Regions from separate parts of the Homo sapiens genome. Here regions 1 and 3 are each linked to region 2. Evidence: promoter capture Hi-C in human tissues and cell types (Jung and others, 2019). All regions are on one chromosome and are shown on one strand. The core of a region is centred on a gene start or on the middle of the fragment in contact, and the rest is flanking DNA. Distances in the headings are between cores, read along the strand shown. Region 1 overlaps LAMA3 (laminin subunit alpha 3). Region 2 holds the start of LAMA3 (laminin subunit alpha 3). Region 3 overlaps TTC39C (tetratricopeptide repeat domain 39C).

Evidence for each region. Contacts are between HindIII fragments. The study calls those that stand out against the background at their distance.
Region 1: a contact is called between a fragment that was not itself captured here and the fragment with the promoter of LAMA3 in region 2, in 2 of the 25 tissues and cell types used here (dorsolateral prefrontal cortex and spleen).
Region 3: a fragment that was not itself captured here is called in contact with the fragment with the promoter of LAMA3 in region 2 in 1 of the 25 tissues and cell types used here (lymphoblastoid cells).

Annotation. Positions count from the first base shown.
Region 1 is chr18:23,950,981-23,953,680 of GRCh38, forward strand. It overlaps LAMA3 (laminin subunit alpha 3), which reads left to right. Exons shown (of 75, transcript NM_198129.4): 73 at 704-797; 74 at 2,010-2,129. Among named protein-coding and RNA genes, the nearest start is that of LINC02958, 30 kb to the right of the region's middle. RefSeq lists an enhancer at 449-1,309. The HindIII fragment of the contact is 4,679 bases long and covers 1-2,700 here.
Region 2 is chr18:23,688,021-23,690,720 of GRCh38, forward strand. LAMA3 (laminin subunit alpha 3) reads left to right here and starts at 1,433. Exons shown (of 75, transcript NM_198129.4): 1 at 1,433-1,957. The coding sequence starts at 1,664. RefSeq lists an enhancer at 792-1,341. The HindIII fragment of the contact is 10,376 bases long and covers 1-2,700 here.
Region 3 is chr18:24,031,897-24,034,596 of GRCh38, forward strand. The region is part of intron 1 of TTC39C (tetratricopeptide repeat domain 39C); the gene reads left to right. Among named protein-coding and RNA genes, the nearest start is that of TTC39C-AS1, 18 kb to the left of the region's middle. RefSeq lists an enhancer at 1,918-1,967. The HindIII fragment of the contact is 6,682 bases long and covers 1-2,700 here.

The sequences.
Region 1 (2,700 bases), core at 62-2,561, 260 kb after region 2:
ATAGCAGTGACATTGTTTAGCTCAAAAATTGCCTGTGAATAGGCTGTCCCATCTAGCTACATGCAAATTAAATGTAAATTATTTATAAACACACTTATTTTAGTCCTCTCATTTCATTCCCCTTGATTCAACTCTTGGAAGATCCTGGAGGAGACCCTGATTTAGAAAGCAGGAATGTGGGATTCTGCACAAAACAGACTGCGTGCCTGGCTCCCGATGCGTGCCCAGAGCAAACTCAATCATTTTGCTTGTTTAAAGTCTTGCCATGCATGGAACTATTACAGTTGGCTGGCCCTTGCAGCAGGCTGTAGGCCTCCACCAGTAGCTTTGCCTTCCACATCTCACATATCCTTCCATACAGAGCCACTGTCACGCATTAATTGCTAAGGAGGATTCCAATCAGTAACCTTTGAGTTGAGCTGATGGGGGCGGGGTTTGGATTAGAAGGGAACAACTCATTGCCATTGGCAACGACTTCAGGCCAGGGTCCACCCTGGTTTATAGTTGCCTGGAAGGGATGCAGCAGAGAGATCTCTGGAAGCATTGGACCCCATGTGGTCAAATGCTTCAAAAGCGGAGGAGGGCCAATATCTAATGTGCCCTTAAGCTGTCAGTTGGCCCGGTTTGGGGAGGGAAGATGGCAGGGGAAGGTCGGCTCCACCTGCCTTCCTGAAGGAAATAGGAAAATGCATGTGTGTTCCAGGTCACGGCCTCTATGGACAGTGGGGCAGGTGGGACCTCAACGTCGGTCACACCAAAGCAGTCTCTGTGTGATGGACAGTGGCACTCGGTGGCAGGTATGTTGTCCAGTAGCTGATTGTTCATGCACTAAAACAGGCCCCCTTTCCATTTTGACTTGAACATCCCAAAGGCAGCCTCAGCCCCTCCATCCACAGTGCCTGACCAGGGCCAGCCCCCGAGGCTAACGTGTCCATTCACAACCCCAGCCATGCTTCCGTCACTCATGGTTGCCACCTCCAGTTCTCCAGAACTTATCAAATATTTTATTGTTGCTGTTGTTGTTGTTTGTTTGTTTTTGGAGCCCAGCACACTAATAAGCTAGGCTAGTTTTCAAGATAGTATAACGTTGTGATTTAGATTTTGGCTCTGAAGTTAGAACAGAGGTCAAATCTTAGTTCCATCCCTTTCCCTGTGTGACCTTGGACAAGTTGCTTAATTGTTCTTTACCTTCGGTTTCCTCTTCTGTAAAATGGAAATAAAAATAGGGTATGGCTCTTAAGGTTGTGGAAATTAAATGGGACAATGTGTGAAAGGTTATTAGCCCAGTGTCTGATATGTAGTCAGTGTTCAGTAAGTATCTGTTTTTTGTTAAGGCTCATTGTTGTGTTATTTTTTTCAACAACCATTTAATATTAATGCTAACTATTTAGACAACCCGATGAGTAGAGAGCAAGCATTTCCTCTCAAAAAGAATCTGTTATTTTATTAATTATTTGTGGATATTAGAGATCTATGAACCCATATTGGCTAAAATACCTTTTGTAAAAAAGTGGCCTTTTCTTGGCTAATTTAAAAGATAACTACATTGCAATTAGCTGAGATCATTAACATGAGAGGAATTTTGTGTCGAGAGTCAAAAGAGCTGTCTTTGGCATCAGCTTTCAGAAGTCAGTGTCTTCATAGAAAGTAGCTGAGATCACATGAAATCAGCATGGCCTCTGGACACAGGAGACCAGAGCTTAAATCCCAACTCTTGGTAACCAAGCCATCTTGTCAGGCTCCTCAGTGAGACACATTCTCTTATCTGGGAAATGGGGAATGATAATTTCTTCTTCACAGATTCATTTTAAGGGTAAAATTCATTCATGTACGTGGAAGCACTACCTGGTGTTTAGAGGAAGTTAATTGAATTTATATCTAAGCTGACCAAATTTCTGCAAACAGCACTCCCACAGGTCTAGTATGAAGGAGTTAAAACAAAGTCAATGGTGTAGACATTAAGCAGGGCTCACCTCCGATGATAGACCTAACCAGCCTCCTTTCCCCAGTCACCATAAAACAACACATCCTGCACCTGGAACTGGACACAGACAGTAGCTACACAGCTGGACAGATCCCCTTCCCACCTGCCAGCACTCAAGAGCCACTACACCTTGGAGGTGCTCCAGGTAACTCTTGTCCTGACTTCTATAATGTGTTGCCCTGTGTCAGCTCTGAACATTCACTTCTTAATTAGTGGCAGGGCAGCTCTTGGCTGGACAGTGGAGATGGTGAGGCCCTTTGCACTGGCATGTGGGGAAAGGCAGTTGCTGGAAAGGAGCACTTGTCAGGTCAGCCCAGGCCCCATTACTGCTGTTGCCCCTTGCCCCAAGCCTGTAATTTTGTTTTTTTTTTTTGTTTTTTTTTTTGTTTTTTTTTGAGATGGAGTCTCACTCTGTTGCCCAGGCTGGAGAGCAGTGATGTGATCTCAGCTCACCACAACCTCTGCCTCCCAAGTTCAAGCTATTCTCCTGCCTCAGCCTCCCAAGTAGCTGGGACTACAGGCACATGCCACCACGCCTGGATAATTTTTGTGTTTTTAGTAGAGGCAGGGTTTTGCTATGTTGGCCAGGCTGGTCACAAACTCCTGACCTCAGGTGATCCACCCGCCTCAGCCTTTCAAAGTGCTGGGATTACAGGTGTGAGCCACTGCACCTGGCCCCAAGCCTATAATTTATAATCCTTTCTTAAGAGGTTGCA
Region 2 (2,700 bases), core at 183-2,682:
AGGATTACAGGCATGAGCCACCGTGCCCGGCCCAATTTATATTTTTCTTTTGTTGCTTGCGCTTTTGATATCATAGCTAAGACAGCATTGCTAATCCAAAGTCATGAAGATTTTCTCCTGTGTTTTTCCCTTAGAATTTTATAGTTTTAGCTTTATAGTTTAGCTCTCTAAATGTAAAATTTAGAGATCTTAAATCCATTTTGAGTTAATTTTTGCATATAGTATGAGGTGGGGATCCTACTAGATTATTTTGGGATGTCCAGTTTTCCCAGCAGCGTTTATTAAAAATATTATTCTTTTCCCATTGAATAGTCTTGGCACCCTGTTGAAAATCCAGTGACCATAAATGTAACGGTTTATTTCTGAGCTCTCAATTCTATTCCATTGATCTATGTTTATCGTTATGTCGGTACTACACTGTCTTGATTACTGTAGTTTTGTATTAAGTTTTAAAACTAGGAAGCGTGAGTCCACTGACTTCATTCTTTCTCAGAATCGTTTTGGATTTTCTAGGTCTCTTGCATTTCCACATGAATTTTAGGATCAGCTTGTCAATTTCTGAAAAAAAAAAAAGTCGGGATTTTGATCCCTATCAAAATCCATTGTGTTGAATTGTAGGTTGCTTTAGGAAATATTGCCATCTTCACAATATTGTCTCCTAATCCATGAACATGGGAGGCTTTTCCACTCATTTAGGTCTTTTAACATTTCTTTCAAAGAGGTTTTGCAATTTTTATTGTACAAATATTGCATTCCTCTAATTTCTTCGAGGGCCTATGTGGGTTCTGTTTTAGTAGGGTGTTCTGCATATAAGACCAAGCATCAGTCCGGGGTCGTGGGGGGAGGGGGTCTTCTCTGTTCTGAGGCCATCATGGCAGGTGGCGTACCTCACTCAATCTCTGTTAGCTTATTTGTAAAATTGAGCAGATTAGGCATCTAAAGGATTTCCTCTAAGGTTCCTTTCCAGGTTGGCAAATTACAACTTGCATTATTGGCTGTCTTTTAAATATGTACGTTCCACCACTCCCAGTTCCCTGGCTCAGCCTGTGGCTGCAGTGCCACAGGGATCCTAGGTGCACAGTGTTGAGGAGTTGACGACTCAACACTTGGCTGGGAAATCGAAATGTCTTTGATGTGAGTTCTGTAGGTAGTGGCAGTTTCCTCTGCTCTCAACCAAATTCGTTTACAAGCCTCCTTTACTCTTAGGTCACAGGTGGCTTTTCTGGCTTTGACCTGAGCGGTGAGTATCCAGAGAGGAGAACGATCTAATTAATTTCTGTCCTGGCGCCTGGAGGGTTCGAAGATCCCAGGCTCCCGTTCCCGCCGCCTGGGTGGGAGCCCGGGAACGCCTCTCCCATTCCCCGCCCGCGAAGTTTGCAGCGCGCCTCGCGCGGGAGAGACGCCGTCTGCTGGCGCGCGGCTGAGCGCTGTCAGTTCCTGATCCGGCTGGTGCCCGCTCCAGCCGCGGCAGGTTCCAGAGCTGAGAGGCCACCCCCACGCCGCGGGCTTCCAGCGCGTGGAGCAAGGGGAGCGGCCCCGGCGCCGCCCATATCCCCGGCTGCGCTAGTCCTGGCGCTGCAGGTCCGGGAGGCGCAGGCGGAGAGCGGCGGTGCCCCCGAGCCCCTCTGCGGACGGCTCAGGCGGGAGGACCCCGCGCGGCTGGATGGCGGCGGCCGCGCGGCCTCGGGGTCGGGCACTGGGGCCAGTACTGCCGCCGACGCCGCTGCTCCTGCTGGTACTGCGGGTGCTGCCAGCCTGCGGGGCGACCGCTCGGGATCCCGGGGCCGCGGCCGGGCTCAGCCTTCACCCGACTTACTTCAACCTGGCCGAGGCGGCGAGGATTTGGGCCACCGCCACCTGCGGGGAGAGGGGACCCGGCGAGGGGAGGCCCCAGCCCGAGCTCTACTGCAAGTTGGTCGGGGGCCCCACCGCCCCAGGCAGCGGCCACACCATCCAGGTGAGGGCCTCGGAGAGAGCCGGGGTGGGCGCGCCTTTTCCTTCCCGCGCCGGCCAGACACCCGGAGAAGGGATCGGGCCCTTTCCTCACGCGCGCTAGTGGCTCCGGGCGACTGGGAAGGGCAGCCCCCATCCCCGCGCGCGAGGGCCCACGACCCAGGAGCGATCTCGTGGAAGCACCGCACCGGCACCACCGGCCCGAGGCGAGGAGGGGGAGCACGCGAGGTGACATGAGGCTGTGGTCAGGTTCGGGCTGGTGGAGGGGAAAGTGTGAGGCTGCGCTCTAAGAGATGCAGGCGCCTCGGCCCTTCCCGCCTCCGTCACCCACGGAGCGTCCCGCCAGGCTTGAGTCCTCGAGGGTTCAGGGGCGCCTCCTGCCCCACCTCCCGGGCCTTATTCGGAGAAGTCGGTGGCAATTACCTTCTGTGGTGTATTTTAAGAGAGAATTTTTAGGTTATAACAGCGGTATCACTCTAATGTTACTGAAAAGATTCACTTCACTGCACTGCCTGAAGTGCCACCATCCAGTCATTGGGGGCGAATGAGACCTTAGGCGGACAGAGATAGAAAGGCTCTCAGAGATCCGAGCCTCACCGCGAACACCCGGGGCAAACGACATTGCGGTGCATGTTAAGCAGCATCTTGCAGTGCCTGGCCCTTACTCACAGGTCTCAGCCAGGCAAGAGTGCAGTGGTGCGATCACGGCTCACGGCAGCCTCGAACTCCTGGGCTCAAGGGATCCTC
Region 3 (2,700 bases), core at 12-2,511, 340 kb after region 2:
AGATGGGGGATTATCCCGGATTATCTCGATGGGCCCTAAATGCAATCACATGTATCCTTATAAGAGGAAGGCAGAAAGAGATTTTACACACACGCAGAAGGTGGCGAAATGGAAACATCAAGAGACAAGATTTGAAGACATTGGCCTTGAAGATTAGAGCCACAGCTGCCCTAAGCCCGAATGCAGCCAGTCACCAGAGGATGGAAGAGGCATGGCAGGGACTCACCCCTAGAGCCTCCCCAGGGAGTGTGGCCCTGCCGATACCTCGATTTCAGCCCAGTGACACTGATGTCACACTTCTGGTCTAAAGAACTGTAAGAGAATACATTTCTCTTGTTTTCAGCCACCAGGTTTATGGTAATTTATTACAACAGCCACAGAAAACTAATTCAGCCTCCCATTGCTTTTAGGATTAGGACCAAAATCTGTGGCAGGATTTATCTGGCATAGCTTGGGCCTGCTTGGTTTGCCCCTTGACCGTCACTGCCTTATCTCATTTTTTTCATATGAAGATTGAGTATCCCTTATCCTAAATGCTTGGGACCGGAAATGTGTTGGATTTCAGATTTTTTCAGATTTTGGAATATTTGCTTATACATAATGAGATATTTTAGGAATGGGACCGAAGTCTAAACACAGAATTCATTTATGTTTCATATACATTTTATGCATAGAGCTTGAAGGTAATTTTGTACAATATTTTAAATAATTTTCTGCATGAAACAAAGTTTTGACTGCATTTTGACTGTGAACGTCACATGAGATCAGGTGTAGAATTTTTCACTTGTGGCAGCATGCCAGCCCTCAAAAAGTTTCAGATTTTGGAGCATTTTGGGTTTCAGATTTGTGGGTTAGGCTGCCCAACCTGTATTTTAAAATGATTTTGTTGTATGATTTCTAGGTTGTGGCTGTACAAATCCCAGTTAGCTCATGCTATAAAATAGACTCATATTTCCCCCTTTTATACAGGGGTTTGTAGAAAAACAGAAAAGTAAAATAGCTTTAAATTGGCAATGGCTTTCGTTTTAACCAGCTTTAGAATCCATATTAACCTTCATTGAAAAGATCAATGCTGGCTGGGTGCAGTGGCTCACACTTGTATTCCCAGCACGTTGGAAGGTGAAGTCGAGTGGATCACTTGAGACCAGGAGTTTGAGACCAGCCTGGCCAACATGGCGAGAGCCTGTCTCTGCTAAAAATACAAAAATTCGCTGGGCCTGGTGGCACATGCCTATAATCCCAGCTACTCGAGAGGCTGAGACATGAGAATCACTTGAAACTGGGGGGCGGCGGTTGCAGTGAGCTGAGATCATGCCACTGTACTCTAGCCTGGGCAACAGTGTGAGACTCTGTCTCAATAAATAAATAAATAAAATAAATAACCAGTGCTTTCTCCAATTATGCCATTTGGTAGCCTTGTCTTCCATTGCTGTGTTCTTTCCTTACTCTTTGACTTGTAGTTACCATGATCTTTCAGATTCTTGACTTTGCTTTGCTTCCTCCTGACACAGGGTTTTCATTGCACGTTGAATCTCTCCTCCAAGCTGACTCAATTTCTACTTATCCTTCAACCTCAACTCCACCTTCCCTTCCTGGAGAGGCTTTCTCTGGTCTTCCAGCCTCATTTGTTTGCTATGCATTCTGTAAGAATCCTCTGGGTTCTTACCTTAGTTTGTAATCATGCACAGACAGCCCTGGCCTTACTTGGTTCTAATATGCACAGATTCCAGTTTCCAGAGTTAAGTAACACCAGTTCCCCAATAACACAGTTCAATTTTCAGTTACTACTGTGTATGAGCTTTGAGTAATTGTAGCCACTAGCTTTTCAGGCCACAAATCATTATGTATGTAACATGATCAGTAGCCAATCGTGTGACTTCTTTCAGAGTCTGTCTGTGACTGGTCATTGCACCTCTGTTGTTCAGTTCACAGACAGCAAAGAGTGTCCTTGTGTTGCTTCCTTCATTCCTAGTGATAGACCCACTGACATTTTACTCAAAGGGATAATTGAAAGAGGACTTTGGCCAACAAAGATGAAAGTGCAGCAAAGAAAAAAGTGGTAACACTGGAACTGAAATTGGAATGATATCTAAATGGAAGGAATAGCTGACCTGGAATGTTGACACTGCCCCTATTTGAGGGACTGTGGATGTGCAGCCACAGGCAGTTAGTGAAGGGGAGTTTATTAAACATAAAGGAGGAAGGTTGTAAGAAAAAAGATGCAGATGTCCCAGAGGAGGTGACACTGGCCAAGAAAAACTTCCCATTCAAAGAACTCTTGGAAAGATCTCACAACATCGAAAGCACAAAGGCTACCCTGAAGCTAATCCAAACTTCATAAGGAGTGTCACAGTTCAAAGTACGACAGAGATGCGTACTTTACATCATACATTATCTTACAAGAAGAGGGCACGCCCTGCTCAAAATCCTCTTGATAAGTTTTCTTACAAAAAAGGAAATCCCTTTAATGCTCAATGTTTTAAATAAGAGTTTGTAAAATAAATGTTTTGCTAACTTTTTTATTTCCCTAATGTTTATAAATGGTAGAGTTTTTAAATGCTTTTAAATTATTTTTTCAATTGTGGTAAAATATACATGAGGTAATATTCACCATTTTATTCATTTTTAGATGTACGGTACAGTGGCATTAGTGGCATTAAGTACAGCCATCACCAGCATCCATCTCCAGAACTGTTTTGT